Linked DNA regions of Homo sapiens: all the other regions are linked to region 1. The links are contacts of gene promoters, found by promoter capture Hi-C in blood cells and fetal thymus (Javierre and others, 2016). All regions are on one chromosome and are shown on one strand. Each heading gives the region's core, a stretch centred on a gene start or on the middle of the fragment in contact. The rest is flanking DNA. Distances are from core to core; before and after follow the strand shown.

Region 1 (5,173 bases), core at 57-2,556:
TGAGATGGACAGGGTTTGTTTTGATTTGGCATCCTTGCAAGACAAAAGTGGCTGGAAAATCTGGGGTTCTGAGGTAGTCATGGGTAGCCTGGAGATTTGGGGTTCAGTTGGGCATGTGTGCTCTGGATTTTGGGGTCCTGAGGTGGTCAAGGTTTGTTCAAGCCCTGGCATCCTGGGGGGGATGTGGTAGCTGGAGGATTTGGGGTTCTGAAGTAGTCATGGTTAGCCTAGAGATTTGGGGTTCGGTGTTGGGCAATTTTATTCTGGATTTGTGGGTCCTGAGGTCAGCAGGGTTTGTTTCAGGTTTGGCATGCTTGCGTGGACATGGTTGGCTAGAGGATTTGGGGTTCTAATGTTCTCAAGACCAGCATGGAGGAGGACTTGGGGTTTGCTTTGAGTTTGGGGTACTGACATGGGCAGGCTTGCCTTGGGTTTGGGGGTTCTGCTGAGGACAGGCCTTGTTTCAGACAAGTCTTACATGAACAGAGTTGGCTTTGGGACCTGGGTTCCTTATGAAGACATGGGGAGCCTGAGGGTCTGGCTTCTGGGGGGTCCTGGCTTGGACAGGATTTGCTCAGGGTTGGCAGATGCAGCCCGATCCAGGCAGGACCTGCTTGTGGATTAGGGTCCTGCTGTGGACAAGGTTTGCCTTGATTGGGAGTCCAATTTGAACGCCGTGTGTTTGAGATTGGGAAGTCCCTCTGTGGCCAGGACCCTAAGTGGCCCTTCCATCTGGGTTTCAGGGTGGTTGGGTTTCAGGGGTTTGCTTTGACATCTGGGGTTTCTCACGTAAGCAGGCTTCCCTTTGGGAATCCACTTCAGAAGTGGACAGGGTGCCCTTGCATGTGGCCAGGGAAGGAGTCAGGGCAGGAGCCACCTTCGTCGAGGTACTGGAGCCGCTGGAGGTTGAAGGGGATGCCGACCATCAGGTCCAGCTCCTCTTTGAGCTCCCGCACGGTCATGTCGCCGCGGCAGTTTGCCACTCGGAACATCTCCCCCGTCTCCTCCAGCCGCACCCGCAGGACGAAGACGTCAGGGGCCAAGTCGGGCAAGGCACTCGCGGCCTTCGGGTCACAGACGAGCCGCTGGCTCCGGCCGCGGGCACAGGCCAGGGGCTGCGCGGGGAGGGCCCGCGAGTCCGCCGAGCCCACCCTGGGCCCGCCGCACCCCTGAGCCCCGGCCCGCGCACCGCTCCTGCGTCCCGCATTGGGGTGCAGGCGAGAGGCGCCCCCAGTTGGCCCCGCCGCCCGCGCTCCGCCCGCCCCCGCCGCCGCCCGCCGCATCCCCCAGGCGCGGCCGCGCGTCATCCGCGGCTCGAGTGCGGTGGCCACGCGTCATCGCCGCCCCCGCCCTGACGCCCCAAGGCGGGCCCATGCGCCCCCCGCCCCACTGTGACGCCCAGGCCCCGCCAGGACCGCCCCCTCCAGACGCAAGGCGAGGCCCCTCCCTGCCTGCCGCCCGAGCCTCCAGGGAGACCGATGGGCGGGCGGCCCCCCAAGGTCCCGCAGTCCTTTCCCGCTCCGCGATGAACAAAGCCGCAGTTTCACGCGGCCGCGGGAGACGGTTCTTAAATAATGGAACAGGACATAAGTGCTTCCCAGAGCAACCGGGAGATTTATTGATAAATACAGAGACATCGCCGGGCAGCCACGCTCCGACAACCCGCACTGGGCCCCCGTCCCGAGCTCAGGCCACGTCCCCACCTCCTCGAAGCCTCCAAGCTGCTGTTAATGTCAGTTCTTTTCACCAGGCAAACGGAAGGGGCATTCTTGCTGCTGTTAGGAAACGGTTACCACTTCTCCGTGTCTGTTTAAAATAGGATCTTTGCATAAATTGGGATAAATCACCTGGAGGAATTACACGTAAACAAGGCTGTAAATCACCATTGCATGCATGGCCTGCAGAGTTGTAAAGTGCAGATTTTCGTTATAAAAACACTTCTAGTATGAATGAAAAAAAAAAAAAACCACCAACATTTCATAAACATGACTCCCTGCAGCCGATCTGGTCCCGACATGGGGGTGGATCCCAGAAGCGGGAGACAGCCTTCCACGGAAACTTGCAAAACTGCACCAAAATCTATCAATTTTGAAAATGCTCTTGAATTCTTGGCGGAAGAAAGATGCTGATAAACACATTAAGTGGGGAAATGCTCCCTTGAGAAAGGCTGGGTTGGCTCTATGAAGACACCTTTGGAGTGAGCTGTGCCTGGGAGAAACCCATCTGTGCTTTTCCCTTCATTCACCGGAGATGAGGCTGAGTGTTCAAGTAAACAGGAAGCTTACCTGTGGTGGTCAAATTACAAACACTCAACATGGCACCCATGAATAATTAGAAAATACAAGCGCCGAAGTGACGGGGGCGGGAGCTAGGAGGGCGAGGGGAAACAGAACAATCTTGGAAAAATCTCGGTTGTTGCAAAAAAAGAATAAAATGTATGCTTAAAAATTATTTTTACAGAGAAATTACAGCCATAAAAAATATCTGTGCATTGGAAAGGCACTCATATTATAGAAAAATGTTAACATATAAACGGAAATTGTAAAGGTTAGATTATTTACCAAAGAGTCTCTACAATCTCTCCAAGCATGTTGTGATTCAGCATGCAAATTATACACATCACAACACAAACTGAAGCTCATTTTTTTCCTTAACGGAAAATTAAGCTCTGAATAGAATACAAGATTCCAGTTGAATAATTCTACTTGCTGCTAGATCAACAGATTTTAACAAAACAATCTCAATTTGCGGGCAATAAAAAAAAATTAAAAATTGCTGGTTACCAAAGCAAAACAATATCTCCATTTACTTTAGGCAAGAATTAAACACACGACGGATTGACTGATTTTTTTTTTAATATGTAGCTTCTGATTTATTAACTCACTTTTTGCCGACGCTGCCTAAATGCTACCCTGGGGTATAATTTGCAATTCTCACATAGGTACCTTATTATTATTTTGGCGTGGTGTATATACGCCTATCTTTCTTTTAAAAGAATCAGTTAAATGGAATTTGGAGGTGGAAGTCACATCCTCTATACTAGAAAATTCAATACATAGCTTCAAGAATTTCATTTAAAAATAAAGACAAGACAAACAAGAAAAAGACCAAAGGGCAGAATAGAAATAGCTTACAAGCCCTTAGCAGAGCTAGCTCTTGAACCCCAAATGGGCTGTTTCCTCCTTCCTTCCCTTATCCTACCTTTGAGAACATAAAAATAGAAACACGAAAAATGACATGTGCATACATGTAAGTAAAATTTGTTCAAATGGTTAGAAAATCTTAAATTACTGATTTAAAAAACCTGGTTAAATTCTAGAGCATCTTTCTCTTAGTCTAAATTTGAAACGCATGAAATCTAAGCGGTGTGTACTTAAGTCAATTTGAAGAGTATATAATTTGACCCCCAAAGTCACAGGTGCGTAGAACTTGTGGGCAGGTTATGATCAGAACTAGGTTTTCCTTTTTTTGGTTAAGATTCTAAAGCATTAGATATAAAGTCAATATCCATGCATCTCAGTTATCAATTTCCCTCCCAAGTTTAAACATATAGCATATCCATATAAAAATGGAAAAACCTCAGTTATCCATTTCCCTCTCAAGTTCTTAAACATATGACAGCATATCCATATAAAAATGAAAAATCTTTCAGCTTTATGCCTCTATCAAAGGCCAACACATATCTTCATGGAAACAGTTCCTGTCAGGCAGGGAGGAGTGAGTGCCTGAGGAAAAGTTCCAAGTAGTTTATAACAAAGGCACAATATTAGAAAGACTGCCATCAATCATTCTTTAGATTTCTTTATCACATTTTTCAAAAATAAACAAATCGAACCATATTTGTAGCAACTCAAAGTGCAGCATAGATTTAAATGATGTATTTGTTCAGCTCACTGATAGGGGGCAAATACTACATTAATATATTTTCTTCCTGTCAAGAGTTATTTACATATGTACAGTATTTCAGTTAAAAATATAACACCATAAACTATATTTTATAGGAAATCATAAGGGAAGGAAATATGCAGGTCTATTAAAGACTTAAGAGCTTCTAATAAACTACTTTACTTGGAGAGGGTTGGGGGGACTTCAGATCATACAGTCTGCCATGGAGAAAAGAACTTGCTGGCAGACAGCCTGATGGTTCAGAGGCTCCAGTGCCCAGTTAGCCACCTGGTCTGCAATCTTTCCACAGACTTACTGATCAGGCTTGATCAGGATGGCCCAGCCATCCAGAAAAAGCCCCCATCAGGTTCAGTCCCTTCGGGGTACAGATGGAAAAGGCGTCAATCACTGAGTGCACAGTATGAAAGGTTCCAAAATCTCCCCCAGCTGGTATAATACAATCAGTTCCCCTTCAAGTTATGGTAAGCCATATGTGCCAAGCATGAAATAATCAGATTGCAACTCATCACGGAAGTAGTTAATTCTGTTTTTCTAGTACAGCAGTGTCTATGATATTCCGCCGCTTTGGTTCTAGGGCTGCAAAAAAGGAAACATCTTGGTCCCGGTCTGACTGCAATGCTAAGATGGTCTCTTCAATGACTTCAAGATGAGGGTTACCAGCATTTCTAAAATACGCTAAAGAGAGAAACCATGAGTCTGAATCAGGTAAGCCATGAACAGTGTTCAAAACACACTCGGTTTTGTTTTTTGTTAGCCACATGTCAGGACAATAAATCAAAGAGTATTTCTAAAATGTTAAAGATGGACTCCCAACAGTTATGCATATTTTTAAAATTATAGTAACTATCTTTTTTCCCTGCAATACAAAAGAAATGGCAATGTGCAGAGCAGGAGCAGGTTGTAGGTAGGGTGGGGCAGGGGGTGAGGTGGCAAGAAATGTACATGTAGGGCAGAGTTCAAGATATTTTCCTATATGTGTGGTGTAGAAATAAACTATCCAAGAAACACAAAGCTTTTATTGAGTCCTGTCCAGGTGTAAATAATCCACTAGTTGGGTTACAAATCTTTTCTAACTGACCACAAAATAATACCATTAAAACATAATAGCAGTTAAGGCTTACGTTTGCTACCTTTCATAATCTTTCATGTCATAACTCAAAATTTATCAATTTCCCTCATTTCTGGAAAGCTATGTAATAATTTACATTTTAGCATATGTTTATTAAGTATGAAGACCAAATTACATTCATTTCCTTGGTCGTTTTAT
Region 2 (4,828 bases), core at 520-3,019, 830 kb before region 1:
CAAGCTCGAGCTTTCCTCGTTTAGCCTCAGTTTCACCTTGTGTCCAGGGTGGACAGGCTGATAACTCTGCAGTGTGCTTGCGGGCATCAGGACCTTCCTGCTGATCTCATTTGGATAGAGTAGGGAGCTGGACACTGGGTCAGCTTGTCTGACAGATCTTTGCTTGCTTTGTGCCAGGCTGGGGATGCCTGCCATGGGGGTGAGGGGAGACCCGGTCCCAGCTCCTAATCACAGTGCTTTCTGCAGCGAGGTGCTGAGAGGAGGACAGAGACAAAGGAGGTCAGCATGCCTCAGAAGGCGACAGGAGCTGGGGAGGGGAAGGGAGCAGCCGGGGAGGCTCAGGGCCCGACAGGGTAGCCTCAGCTCCTAGAGGACTTTGATGACCCAGGGAGGCACTGCTACATTCCTCCAAGTGACACCGGACCACGCAGGCTCCGAGCGGAGGAGGGATGGGTCAGTCTGCATTTTTGTTTTCAGAGTGTTTTTGCTTCTGGCTGCTGGGTTGAGCCTGGACTGCCGAGGGTATTGTGGTGGTTGGAGGCCCTTAGAGGATGCCCAGTAATCCAGGCATGAGACGAGGGTGCTGCCTGCACCAGCGGCCCTGGTGAGATACAGTGAGATTCTGGGTGTCTATTTTAAAGAACCTGGGAAAGAAAGAGGAGTCCAAGAAGATTCTGGAGCTTTGGGCCTTTGAAATGGGAGATGGGCTTGGCCCTGACTGGGGTGGAGGCAGCTGTGCAGTACAGTTTTGGGGAGAAGGTCAGGAGTTGGAGTTTGGGCCGGTTCAGGTGGAGATGCTGTTCCGGGCCTGGCATTGCCCCACAGAGAGGGCGTTCGACCTGTGTCCTGTGGCTGGCTGCCCCACAGAACTTGAATGTCCCTAGACCTCCCGGCCCTCCCCCTCACAAGTCACTGGGGATTCCCGGGAGGCAGGGCCATGGCCTGGCTTCCTGCCTGCCAGGCGCCTCGGGGACCTTCCCACACCCAGCCAGGCGGGAGTCAGAACCCTAAGAGCTGCGGTCCGTCTCTGCCGAGGTGGGGCAAGGCCCCTGGAGAGCAGGGAAAGTGAAATGGGCTCATTTGCCTTTTTCGTTTTTATTTTCAGAGGCGACTTTATGTTCAGAAAATGAGTCCTCCTGGGCCGTGGTCAGTTCTTTTCGCTGCGAGTTCTGCTTTGAGTGTGGGCAGCATGTGTCCCCAGCACCATCTGTACTTCTCTCTCCCGCCCACCACGGGGTTCTCAGACTCTGCCGGAGGCCCAAGCCCTCTGTCTTGGGGGCAATCTGTTGGACTCTGCAGCATCCTTAGTTTACAGATGGGGAAACAGAGGCCGGAGGGGCTGAGTGATGGTCCATGCGACTTGGACAGGCATGGCCAGGATCCGGGCTTGGGGCTCTTCCTGCCCTTGGACCCCTGAGTCTCTGTGGACAGAGTCAGCTGGGGTGCTCTTGACTGTGTGCTGACCCTGGGTGTGTTGGGGTGCAAATGCTGCCTGGGCCACGTGTGAACGGGAAGGGAGGCAGGCACCTCAGATTTCCAGTCTGGACCAGGCTCGGGGTCCCCCTGTCCTCTCCTGGGCTGTGGCAGAGCCAGCTCCTCCTGCATGCCCAACCCTCCCGGCATGGCCTGGCCTTTCCAGCCCTAATGGTGGCCCGTTTCAGTGGCTCCGTGATTTGGGGGTTTGGTGTTGCCCAGGCTCCGGCACTAGAGGGAAGCAGAGAACCCCTGAGTCATCCTTCCGCAGACACCCCGGACCCCAGCTAGGTGCCTGTGCCCAGTGTCCAGCGTTGCAGTGGGGCTTGGGTGGCATGTGGGGGGTCTGTCCCACCCATTCCTGTGGTTTCTTCCTTGGCTCTGCCTGGACTTTGCACACGTGGTGGGATTAATTCTCTGGTAAACAGATCCGCCTCTGATTGGTGCAAGACCCTTCTCTGGGGTCTTGGTGGGAGGATAGAAGTTTTCTGCAGAGGATGAGGAGGCACAGACGCCCGGTTGTTCTGAGGCCGGAACTTGGAAGGAAACTGGAAGGGAAGGAGGCTCCTGCCCTCTCCTTTGAGGTTACAGCTGGGCTGTGGCTCTGCAACCCTGGGGAGCGCGTGGGACTCCAGCAGCGGCCGTACAGAGGGCCGATTCCAAAGTGGCTTCTAGAGGAGGGAGCAAGTGCCGTGTGCCCAAAGAGGCCGGTGGGCCCTGGCCAAACAGGAGCAGCCCTGATGAGCATTGGGTCCCCCGACCTTTGGGCTCCTACCTGACTGCGCCTGGCCGCTGGTCTGTTTTGCTCACCAAGGGTTCTTGGCTGCTGCCCCCTGACCTGGGGCTGAAAGTCCTAGGAGAGGGAGGGCCTCTGTCCCTCCCAGCATTCCTCAGGCCCAAGGAGGCGTCGATGCTGCTGAAGTCTCTGGGGTGCACAGAAGCAATAGATCCTCACAGCAGCCCCCTGGGGCGTGTGGTTCCCCAGAGGCAGTGATGAGGTCACCCGGGGCCGCCAGGCACCTGGTCGGGGAGCAGAGGCTGGCGGGCTGTGCCTGTCTAGCTGTGACTTGCTGGGTGGAGCCGTGCCTGCCTGTCCCTCCAGCCTGCCCAGCCCTGGCTGCTCAAGGCTGAACTGCTTTCTCTGCCTTCTTGGGGCAGGGACTCTTGGCCTGGGAAGCAGAGGCCATTCCACGGGGGGGCTCTTTTGCCTCCCAGCTACCTGCAAAGCCGGGGCCTGCCTCAGATGCTCAGCACTGGGCACCTGCTGTGCTGGGGCACTTGGGACGCAGCAGCTGAGACCCTGCTCTTGTGGGGAAGACATTGTGCAAGGTAGATGATGAAGGGGCTTCCGATCATAAGGAAACAGAGCCGCCTGGGTGGACCCCTGAGGGGTGAGCTTTGAGCTGTGGGAAGAAGCAAGTGCATAGGTGCGAAGGTCCTGTGGTGGGAAGGAGTCGAATCTGGGAACAGAAGGAGCCCAGGGCAGTGGGAGTGTGGCCAGGGAGGGCGCAGTGCAAGTGGAGATGAGTTAGAAGAGGTAGGTTGAGGCCTAATAACGCAGGAAGCCACAAGGGAGCAGTTTGGGTTTTCTTCTGGGTACAGTGGGAGGCAGCTGGAGGGTTCTGCTTCTGGAGGTGATGGGGTGTTGATGTTTTCGTTTGTTTGTTTTTTGAAACGGAGTCTCGCTCTGTCTCCAGGCTGGAGTGCAGTATCTTGATCTCAGCTCACTGCAGCCTCCGCCTCCCGGGTTCAAGCCATTCTCCTGCCTCGGCCTCCTGAGTAGCTGGGATTACAGGCACGCACCACCACGCCCAGCTATTTTTGTATTTTTAGTAGAGATGGGGTTTCACCGTGTTGGCCAGGATGGTCTCAATCTCCTGACCTCATGATCCGCCCGCCTCGGCCTCCCTAAGTGCTGGGATTCCAGGCGTGGGTCTTGATGTTTTTAAGACAGCTCCAACTGCTGCTGGGTGAAGGATTCAGGGATGGAGGCAGGTCTCCACCACCACCAAGGCAGGGCCACGCCACTGCGCCCGCCTGGAGAGTCGGTGATGAAGGAGAGGGAGGATCGGAGAATTGAGGGATGGAAGCAGGGAGCTCCCTGTTGGATGGTGTGGGCATAGGCTGCAGTGGGGGTGAGTGGGCAGGGCAGTGCCTGGGTGGCCTGGTGGGCTCTTCACTGAGGTGGAGAGTGCAGGAGAGTCCCACCAGGGCCAGGCAGACACGTGCCCTGGCAGGCGAGCCTGTGCAGGGGACACACTTGGTGGGTGGGGCGGCGTGCAGCTACCAGGCTGTGCCCTTGTGTGCAGAGGCTGTGGCACCTGAGCTTTCTGAGCATGGCGTGTGAGTGGGGATGCTGAGGAACCTGCCTGGTGCGTGCACCCGCTCCCCATTGCCAGGCAGTGAAGCCTTGGGCCTGCGGCCGGGGCGGGGCCGCCCTTGGACAGTGCAGGGCCGGTGGTTTGGCTGCATTTTTCTTTCTCACCTGACCACTCAGTGGGTTCGCCCATGCGTGCGTGGCTGCATGAGCCCCTCTGTCTCTCTTTGCTCCCACCTGCCTTCTTTGTGGCCGCCCGGCGTGGGCACCTGTGGTCAGAGCAGCAGTGAGGATCCCTTGTCTTTGCCCTTCCCCTTCCCCATGTGGTTTCTGATGGTCCACAGTCGGGCGTCTCAGCCTTGGCACTGCGGACCTTTAGGACGGCATCGTTCTTTGTTGTGGGGGCACCCTGAGCATTGTAGGAAGCGGTCAGCACCCCTGGCCTCGACCCCTAATGTCAGCAGCACCCCCACCCGCACCTCATATTCCTAGTTGTCAGTTGTGACAACTAGGACCGTCCCTAGGCATTTTCCAGTGTCCCCTGGGGGCACAGTTGTCCTGGTTGGGAATCGCTGTTCTAGTGGCACCTCTAGGCCTCACAGCAAGCTTTTGAGGTCAGCCTCTGTAGGACCCAACTTACAGATGAGGAAACTGCGCCTTGGAAGTTTTGAAACCTGTTTGGTAACTCAGACAAGTGCAGGGGCGAGGCGCAACCCTAGGAGGGAGAGAAGCTGCTGGAACCCAGCTCCTGCCTGGCGGGGCTTCGTGGCTGCTTCTACCTTAACTTCAGCCGGTGTTCTCACTCCCCCTTGGGGCTTGAGGTGTGGCCCGTGCTGTGCCTTCCTTTTATTTTGAGCTGAACCTGGGGCCCCAGCCAGTCCTTGCAGGCACAGCTACCAGCAGCAGGCCCCACTGTACCAGTCCCTTGCTCTGCGATGGGGCAAGTCGCTTGGGGCCTCTCTGAACCTCGGATTTCCTCTCTGGGAGATGGGCTAACACTAGCATCTTTTCTATGGCTTTTTTTTTTGAGACAGAGTT
Region 3 (4,705 bases), core at 1,936-4,435, 670 kb before region 1:
TGAGACTATGAAGTGGACCCTAGGATCAGTATGAAGTAGGTGCTCAGCAAGTGCTTGATGACTATGTGCTGGGAGTATAGACAGGAAAAGGACTCTCAGTTTGAGGACACATCTAGAGAACTGGCAATAGTAGCTGCTCATTCACTGTTGAAGGAATGAATATGATTCCTTTCTCGACCCTCGTCTATACCCAGCTGGGTTGAGACCCTCAGTTTCCTCATCTATAAAATGGGAAAGATAACAAAGGTACCTACATCGGAGAAAATCATGGAATGCATCCCATTTCTGGCATGCAGAGAAAGCCCAGTATTATGAAGATTATTATGCCCGGTGCTAGAGACATAGCAAGCATTTAATAAACGTTTGAGCTGAGGCTTCCTAGAGAATATGAGATTGCAGCAAATTGGATGCAAAACTTCTCTTTACCTTTTTAAATCCGTCTAATTATCTCGTATCAGGATATAGCTGGTGTGGTCACAAAGCAGGGAAAAAGCAATCGATATCCCTGAGTAACTGCAAAACATGGAGTGGCCCCAGGAAGGTGCAGGGAGGAAGTCCCTTTTAGTTTGAAACTATTTTAGTGTCCGATCTTTCTTTCTCCTTCTTTCCCCAATTTTGTATCTGGGCTCAACTTTTTATACATTTTTCAAAAGAAGAGCAGCCTTGGACCTAAGAAAATCTGAGCCTAAGGAGCTCCCCAAAAGCTAGGAGGTCTCTATGGCATCCGTCCCAGAAACAACTAACGCAACTCACAGGCAGCGTGAGCCACCTCCATGCCCCACCCACTGAGCACACACTGCAAAGTCCACTCGGCGGGTTAACTGGGGGTCCTCAGGGATCCCACCAGCAGGGTGGCTGTTTGGCTGCTTCTTCGGGTCCCTGTTGAAACCAACAGACAGTAGTTAGTTTTGAGGCTTACTTACAAATAAGCTGACAGTCAGATGAGGAAGACCCATGCTTCCGGCCAGCCCCTTGAAATTGTTGTCAATGAGTCCCCACTGGGGCAGGGAGTCTCTAAGGACAGGAAAAATGGGGGCCCGAGGGCATCATCTGCCAAGACCTAAGGCAACTGTACCCATACTTTTGCCTGTGTGTCCTCAAAACCCCTCTACTTTATCATGATTCTTCTTCCAGAGAACTCTGTCCTTTGAGGCAAGTCTGTAAACCAATGTTTGCTTTTTAACATTTTGACAAGGGACAGTTGCGGGGGAATCATTACCGTCCTTCCACGCTGTAAATGCAGGTAATGAAAGGATCGGATGAAGGTCGTTGGTGACTCACTGCTCTGACGTTTTACTTGAACTAGCTGTTTCTCTCCCAGAAGACTCAGAACATAAGCACCTGGAATGGATGGGTCGCATTTAGGACTCCAAATGAGTTCTGCTTTCCCTTTTTGTTTTCAATCTATGTGCTCTTTCAGGTACTCAAACCTGTTACCGTTTTATCAGCAAAATGGGACTTTCTACCAATTTGGTGGGATGAGTCTCGCCGGGAGTGATGTGTGTGTCACGGAATTGTGGTCATGCATCGGGATGGCTAATTCACTGATGTCAGATGCTAACGAAGTGGCCTCGGCTACTGAGCATCACGTCACTGTTGGGTTTAGACACAACACGATCTTATGTATGGATGACAGCACCACTAATAACAAATGCCAGTGACCTAAACGGGGAATAACTTCAAATGAAACAAAAAGCACCTCATATCATATTTATCCTGAAAGACACAACTGGCTGAATAAAATCTGAATACAGGAAACATAGCAATGGGTTGATAATTTTGGTGGAACTTGATGATGTGTGACCCACGCCCAACACAGTGTGACCCAAGCCCCCAGGAGGGTTCTCTAAGTGAGTTTGGTCGGAGGCTGCCATTCACAGTGACTTGTATTTGCCACAGCAGCTCTTTCTAAGCCCAGTCCTGGGATTATCTCAGGGATCATCCCACACCCCAGCGGGGAGATGGGCCAAGTCCCCACCTGACCTCATCTTAGGTAGAGAGGCTTCCATGGAAGTGTGGGCTGGCTGTGGGGGGTTGAGACCTAGCCCCGTTCTTTTGACATTTCACCCTGTGTTCTCCAAACTCCAGCAAGCAGCTTCCATAGCTCATTAAATTTGACTGAAGGTCTGATGGCTTGCAAAGCAAATTCTTTACAACTGTTATAAAGGTTTCATTGCTTAAGCATATAATCTAGCAAAACTGCCAAGCCCCCTCCACTCCCTAAACTCTAAGACTTGCCAGGGAAGAGAACAGTGGCCAGTGGACTGCAGGAGTAACTGCACTCAGCCCAGAACTCCCTGGAGGACACAGGGAAGGTTCTGGAAAGGTGGCGGTACCTCACAGGGAGAGACGTGGTGCTCCAGGGCCCAACTTGCTCATGTTCAGATCCTCACTCTGCAACCCACCAGCCGGCTGTGAGTGGCTACACAATCTCTGCCTCAGTTTCCCTATCTGTACATGGGTTGTTCATAGCCTCCACCTCAGAGGGTAGTAATGATGCCAAGCTCTTAGAACAGTGCTCAGCATGTGTGCATCCTGTGCCTACTCTATGCCAAGCACTACAGAGAGAAAAATGAACAAAATAGGGAGAAATCCCTGCCCTCATGGAGTTTACATCGGGGCAGGGGGCGGGGGCGGCACAGAGCAGACAATCAATACAGTGATTAGCCCCCAGTTAGGTTAGGCATTTCCAATCTTTGCCAATAAGCCACATATTTGCCCAAGTTAGGGTGCATCCTTCCCATGAACTTTGACTGTGACCTTTGACTATGGGGTGACATCTTATAGCTGTGGTGTTTTGCCAACCAGCAGCTCTTGGTACACAAAATGTGCTGCTAGCAGGTGCCCCGGCCAACCTTGTCCTTGACCCACCTGCCTGTTAAGAAAAGGGTGTTGTGTTTTGCAACAGCAGTAAAATGGGTCAAGGTTTAGTCAGTTGGAAGTTGTGTCAAAACTCACTATGGTTGGTTGAGGGCTCGAAGTCTCCCAGCATTCATTAACAACTATCTGTTCAATGATTATCTCCCTGGGGCGTGTTGCAGTGAGTTGGCCCAAAGCATAACTGACCCTGGCCGTGATCCAGAGACCTGCCCCCTGACGTCAGTGGCGAGCCTCCCTGGGTGCAGCTGAGGGGCAGGGCTATTCTTTTCCACAGTATTTAAAGCTGGGAGGTTCTGCCACCAAGCACGGCCTTCCCACTGGGAACACAAACTTGCTGGCGGGAAGAGCCCGGAAAGAAACCTGTGGATCTCCCTTCGAGATCATCCAAAGAGAAGAAAGGTAAGTAGAGCTTTGCATTTACATTTTGAAAAATTACAAAGATGAACTCATTTTTTTCCTGAGAGCAATAACTATTTGGCAATGCACAGCCCTGGCAAAAGGCCGTCGAATGTGTTTGAAGGTGTCTGTTGTTGTTTTTGTTCAGGACGCTTGCGTTTTCTATTTCAGGTGACCTCACATTCGTGCCCCTTAGCAGCACTCTGCAGAAATGCCTCCTCAGCTGCAAAACGGCCTGAACCTCTCGGCCAAAGTTGTCCAGGGAAGCCTGGACAGCCTACCCCAGGCAGTGAGGGAGTTTCTCGAGAATAACGCTGAGCTGTGTCAGCCTGATCACATCCACATCTGTGACGGCTCTGAGGAGGAGAATGGGCGGCTTCTGGGCCAGATGGAGGAAGAGGGCATCCTCAGGCGGCTGAAGAAGTATGACAACTGGTAAGCTCGGCCCCCGCTGCCTGTCCCAGCACCCTGCAGGCAGGGCTCCCCTGCGTCTCCTGGGAGTTGGTGGAGAAAGGTGAATGAAGGCCTTCGGGTAGTTTCAGACTCTTGAGAAGATGAATGCAATGGTCAGAACCATACAGACTTGAATTTTGTGACATTAGTGGGCCAGCCCAAGCTTTAAATGAGGTGTGTGCACAAAAGCTCTGCCAACTAGATTCCTGATTAAAAAAAAGGCAGCCCCTCTCCTACAGACCAGGTCCTAGTGGAGTAAATGTCCACCTGGCCATGTCTTAGATGGTCTGTGTGTTCACACTGATGGACTGTTGTTAGCGTGCTCAGCACTCTGCTAGGCATGGAAAGCCACGGTACTGAAGGAGATGGTTCGCTGCCCGTGGTGCTTGGCTGAAAGGAAGCCTGTGATTTTTGCAGCTGGTTGGCTCTCACTGACCCCAGGGATGTGGCCAGGATCGAAAGCAAGACGGTTATCGTCACCCAAGAGCAAAGAGACACAGTGCCCATCCCCAAAACAGGCCTCAGCCAGCTCGGTCGCTGGATGTCAGAGGAGGATTTTGAGAAAGCGTTCAATGCCAGGTTCCCAGGGTGCATGAAAGGTGAGCGGAACATTGATTTGATTGGGTAAAACAGCAGAGAGCCTTTTCTTATTTACATCTATCCTAATGGTAATTCAAACAATAATGGAAGCTCCCACCACCTCAGATGTCTTTCAGTTCCATACATGAAGTTGGCAATGTATTGAAAATGCACATCCCTCTTCTGCTTTTACAGACTGTCTTATACAAACGTGAAAACTAGTTCCATGCATATGGGTTTTAAATAGCTTGGTGGGACCCAATTGCACATTTATGAAAACTCTTTAATTTCAGCAGGCTGTTCACTTTCCAGTGGCCTCTTCTAACCCAGGGGGCTGGTGACCAGCAGGGTGTGGTGGTGTTAGTGGAACACCGTGAAAATGGGTCTACCTGGGAAA
Region 4 (4,947 bases), core at 2,387-4,886, 790 kb after region 1:
ACTGCCCCATTAACAGAAAAACCTTTTAAGCGCCCACCTGGAAACCTGGCTTTTTCCCCTCCCTAAGCAAACTAAGATGGCCAAGAGGAATGTGCTGCAGTGCGGAGGGTGGGCGGAGGACCCCAGCAGCCTGGATCCTGCTCACATGGCAAACAGTGAACCCAGGCAGACCAGAAATGCCCCTTGGGCCCAGCCCCGTGGTCCCTGCAGCAAGGCGGTTTGTGGCCAACAGGGGCTCCTTTCAGGAGCTGGGCCACAGAAGGCCACGGCTGCCCACCGGTCACACCTTCCCGTAATAGCTCACTGCGGTTATTCCATCTATAGTCTGTCCCCAACATCCAGGTTTCTTGGAACAGTTTATATCTCCAGCCTAGACCACCTCTTATGGAATGGAGGAAAAAGGTGACCCCACCTGGAGAAGGACACACTCGTGAATAAATACATCACTGGCTTTAAGAACACAGCCCGCTCTGAGCATCACTGCTCAAACCTGCCCAGCTGTCAGTGTGCCCTTAACAAACATTTACTGAGGCCCTGCCATGGATCAGGCACTTTGGGGACTCAAAGATGAAACGACACAGGCAGCTCCCAGGCTGGCGGGAGATAAGGCATGTGTATAAGTAATTAGCAAACAGGACTGTGTGTGGGCACTGCAGGTTGAAGTGCTCTGGTCCCCAGGAGAGGAAGTGTCTCTGATGAGGGACCTGCCTGTGGGAAGATCATGGAGCTGTCTTTGATCTTCGGAGAAGTCTGGTAGGCAGGGGCCCCTGGGTGGGGAGGGAGGCTCGGGAGAGCTGGTGGGGACAGAGACAAGGGGAAAAGAGGCCAAGGCACGCCAGGAGAAAGGCTGGAAGTGAGGCAAGATGGGCTAATGTCTATGGAAACAGAATGGTCTATTCTTAATTTTAAAATGGTCTGTTTTAATTTCTGAAAAATATTGCTGGGGACCTATGAATAGGTCTGTTTTAATTTAAACAGATCATTAATAAAATGGTCTGTTTTAATTTCTGAAAAATACTGCTGAGGACCTGTGAATATCCTCCTCTTGAATTTGCACATTCTTCTCTTTACCTTTGGGCAGGGAGGAGGGGTGACTGGACCGGAAGCATCTGTGAGTCATGTGACATTCAGGTTTGAGCACAAAAAAGTTCCAAACTTAGAGAAATGTTACAAGGGTATTAATCTTGTGCTAACTTTGAAAAGAACCAGCAATTGTTACCACTTTGCCCCTTTGCTGAACTGCCCTCTCTCCGTTTATCACGTTATGTGGTTGTGGAACTGTTTCCCAGTAAGCTGCCAGCATCAAAACGACCTTGAAGCACAGTGCTTCATAATATGGGATCTCCTGGAAACAAGGACTTCCACTTAGAACCACCCTGCCATGATCAAAGTCAAGAAATGGAACACTGATACAATACTATTTTCCAGTGTACACAATCCTTATTTGAATTTTGACAATGATCCTCATACCATCCTCTATAGCAGCCCTCTTCCCTGGTCCTGGATCCAGCCCAGGATCATGGGGTGCACTGTCAGTACTCAAGGGCAGCCTGGGATCTACACACTAGACAGAGGTGAGAAGCAGTCCCAGTCCAGGCACTCTTAGGACACAGTGCTTTCTTCTTCCCCACCTCTGGGTTTCTCTTCTGGTTTATAGCTCAGGCCCTTTGGCTGTGTGTTTGAGCTCCTTTGGGAGTAAGCAGAAGCGATTTCCCCCAGACACTCCATCGTTAGGAACTTTCCTGATTGTGTTCCTGACCTCACATCCTGGGCCCCACCAGGCCTGTAGAAGGAACACAAGGTTTAGGAGTCAAGCCTGGGCTTGGGGCACAGGAAGCACAGGCCCCTCATGGACCAGGCTGGGCTCCAATGCTTCAACCAAGGTCACGGGTCTGGCGAGAGGCAGGGGAGGGAAGGACCTCCAGGGCTTCTCGCTCTGAGTTCAGTAGTCTTGCCTGTCCTGAGTCCCTGTCCTGAGAGATGGTGTCCTTGAGCTGCTCCAGAGCTAGGAGTGCTCTCTTCCTAAGTAAGCCAGAGTTCCAAGAGTGCAGGATCTGGCCACATCTACCTCCTTCATTCCCTTGTCTGCAGCGCCCAAGGTGAGCCCAGCCTATGACAGGTCCCCGTCCATAGCTGTTCAAAGAATGGGGGCAACCTCAGGGTGCCCGGCAGACGTTAAAGAGAGGCCTCAAGAGGTGGTTGCTCACCGGATGGTGGTTGTCCACATCCTCGGGGCTTCAGGAGTGAGGCCTTGCCCTGTACCTGCCCACCTGCACCTCGACAGCTCAACAGGCACAAGGCAGCGTCCACTGGCTCTCCCCTTCCGAGCCAGGGCTCTCACGCCTTCTCAGGGAGTCCCTTCCCCATCTTCCTTGGAAGCTTCCACCTTCTGTCCTCCAGGCGGTGGGGAACTGCCACCCTCCTGGGCAAGGATATGGAGCTGGTGTTTGGCCTGGATGCCCTTGCCTGGTTGGAGGTAATAAAGCCTAGGGCTGGCTTTCGACGATGATAGAAACTTGGTGGCAGGGGAGGTACTGAGGACCAGGAGACAGAACAGCTGCTTTCAAGCTGCTGAGTACCCAGCCTGCTGCCACTCCTGTACACCGCATGAGGGAATGCTTTTTTTTTTTTTTCTGACAGAGTCTTGTTTTGTCGCCCAGGCTGGAGTGCAGTGGCATGATCTCGGCTCACTACAACCTCCGCCTCTCAGGTTCAAGCGATTCTCCTGCCGCAGTCTCCCGAGTAGCTGAGACTACATGTGTGTGCCACCACACCTGACTAATATTTGTATTTTTAGTAAGAGATGGGGTTTCGCCATGTTGGCCAGGCTAGTCTTGAACTCCTGACTTCTGGTGATCTGCCCACCTTGGCCTCTCAAAGTGCTGGGATTACAGGAGTGAGCCACCACACCCGGCTCTAAGGGAATACAATTGGGAGTCCGTTTTGCTCTTGGAGAATTCAGGGTCTGGTAAAGGGACCCTATGGCAAACATTAAGACCCCAGACACCATGAGCTGAGATGGGACGACAGAGCAGGGGCTGGGAAGGGTGCTGGGGCACAGCCCAGCCCTGGCATGGATAGGGCAGGGGTCCAAGAGACCTGCAGGACACTGCAGAGTAACTTGCATACAGGGCGAGAGAGGGCATGTGGGGGAGGGCGGGCAGACAGTGCCTGATGCAGGCCATCCCGGGACCTGGGACCTGCGAGGCCCAGTTGTGGAGCCTCCTGCTGTGGCGGGGCACGGGGCTTCTGGGGACCAAAGTCTGGAAAAGGGGCCGGGAAGATGGACAGGGAAAGCCCTTGGAGGTGGTCTGGTTACCTGGGTGAGCTAGGAGCCACAGTCATCATACCACGGTCACTAGGGCCAGCATGGTCACCTAGAAGCCTGCAAACAGTGCCAGCCTCCAGGCCCTGTGCCCCGAGGTGGCCTTTAATCTTGCACTCACTCTCTAGGAAATGATGGGGCAGTATTCTGTGTTGAGGGAGGAAAAACACTCCCTTCCAAAAGCATGACAGGCAGAAAGCAGAGAAGGGCCAGGACTGGCTGAGGGCGGGGAGCTGGGCCTCTGGGGTGGACACACCCTTGGTCACATTGTGAGGGTAGCTTGGTTGGCCAGTCCCACCACTGCAGTGACCACAGTTGTGTTGGGCTCACACCAGTGAACCGAAGCTCTGGATTCTGAGAGTCTGAGGATTCCGTGAAGATCTCAGACTTGGGCTCAGAGCAAGGATGCGTGAAATTGTCCATATTCAGATTGGCCAGTGTGGCAACCAGATCGGAGCCAAGGTAAGTAATGTCTGGTTACTAATCCTAGCTTTACCACAGTCCATAGAGGCGGACAACCAAAAAAATACCCTAAGTTAGCAGGGAAGACAATAAGTCTAGCAGATTTAATGTACTTGCTAAATATCAGACAATGCCTTTGGGCTTTAATTCTTAAAAAAAAATTTCACATGGGAAAAGAAGGAAACAATCTTTAACTAAAGAGCTACAACACACATTAAGTGCTTAGAGTGTTAATTTAATTAATGTTAATTTTATCCATAGATACATATGTACAATACATGCCGACCATTATATTACATAATACGTTTATCATCTTTTTCTTTGCCCACTCTGTTGCCCAGGCTGGAGTAGAGTGGCAGAATCATGGCTCACTATAGCCTCAACCTCCTGGGCTCAAGCTATTCTCCTGCCTCAGCCTCCTGAGTAGCTGGGATTACAGGCATGCACCACTATGCCTGGCTAATTTTTAAATTTTTTTTTGAGAGACAGGGATCTCACTTTGTTGCTCAGGCTGGTCTTGAACTCATGGGCTCAAGTGATCCTTCTGCCTCAGGCTTCCAAAGTGGTGAGATGACAGGTGTAGGCCACCGTGCCTGGCACTTTTATCATCTTTTATTTTTTTGAGATGGAGTGTCACTCTTGTTGCCCACGCTGGAGTGCAATGGCGCAATCTTGGCTCACTGCAACCTCCACCTCCTGGGTTCAAGTGATTCTCCTGCCTCAGCCTCCCCAGTAGCTGGGATTACAGGCATGCGCCACCACGTCTGGCTAATTTTGTATTTTTAGTAGAGATGGGGTTTCACCATGTTGGTCAGGCTGGTCTCGAACTCCTGACCTCAGGTGATGTGCCCGCCTGGGCCTCCCGAAGTGCTGGGATTATAGGCGTGAGCCACTGTACCTGGCCCACTTTTATCTTAACAATGAACTTTTCATATCTAAAAACAGTAATTTGTCTCAAAACAGCTTTTTGAAGTTTTTTGAGAAACTTTCTGTACCCTGTCACTATGGTGTCTTTCCCCTCCCCTCTCATGTTTATTGTAACGCTTAAAAAAAATCAATTACTGTTTTATTAGTATGCAATTGAAAATTTAAGAAATTTAATTGAAAATAAAAGTTTTTTGTGTACAGTAACATAATTAATTAAAATACACTGTCTGGAA

The links. Contacts are between HindIII fragments. The CHiCAGO score rates a contact against its expected background, and 5 or more counts as called.
Region 2: a contact is called between a fragment that was not itself captured here and the fragment with the promoter of ANKRD60 in region 1, in 1 of 17 cell types (endothelial precursors). The highest score is 5.1, in endothelial precursors.
Region 3: the fragment with the promoter of PCK1 here is called in contact with the fragment with the promoter of ANKRD60 in region 1 in 1 of 17 cell types (M2 macrophages); the score reaches 6.9 in M2 macrophages.
Region 4: a contact is called between the fragment with the promoter of TUBB1 here and the fragment with the promoter of ANKRD60 in region 1, in 3 of 17 cell types (activated CD4 T cells, endothelial precursors and total CD8 T cells). The highest score is 5.9, in activated CD4 T cells.

The regions. Positions count from the first base shown.
Region 1 is chr20:58,227,347-58,232,519 of GRCh38, forward strand. It overlaps ANKRD60 (ankyrin repeat domain 60), which reads right to left and starts at 1,307. Exons shown (of 4, transcript NM_001304369.2): 1 at 878-1,307. The coding sequence starts at 1,307. The HindIII fragment of the contact is 6,586 bases long and covers 1-2,278 here.
Region 2 is chr20:57,398,823-57,403,650 of GRCh38, forward strand. The region is part of intron 3 of RBM38 (RNA binding motif protein 38); the gene reads left to right. Among named protein-coding and RNA genes, the nearest start is that of RBM38-AS1, 8.2 kb to the left of the region's middle. RefSeq lists enhancers at 1-102, 80-169, 1,144-2,007, 1,990-2,089. The HindIII fragment of the contact is 5,250 bases long and covers 1-4,394 here.
Region 3 is chr20:57,557,925-57,562,629 of GRCh38, forward strand. PCK1 (phosphoenolpyruvate carboxykinase 1) reads left to right here and starts at 3,186. Exons shown (of 10, transcript NM_002591.4): 1 at 3,186-3,279; 2 at 3,448-3,711; 3 at 4,147-4,328. The coding sequence starts at 3,488. The HindIII fragment of the contact is 6,047 bases long and covers 1-3,890 here.
Region 4 is chr20:59,015,793-59,020,739 of GRCh38, forward strand. It overlaps TUBB1 (tubulin beta 1 class VI), which reads left to right and starts at 3,637. Exons shown (of 4, transcript NM_030773.4): 1 at 3,637-3,787. The coding sequence starts at 3,731. The HindIII fragment of the contact is 6,433 bases long and covers 2,378-4,947 here.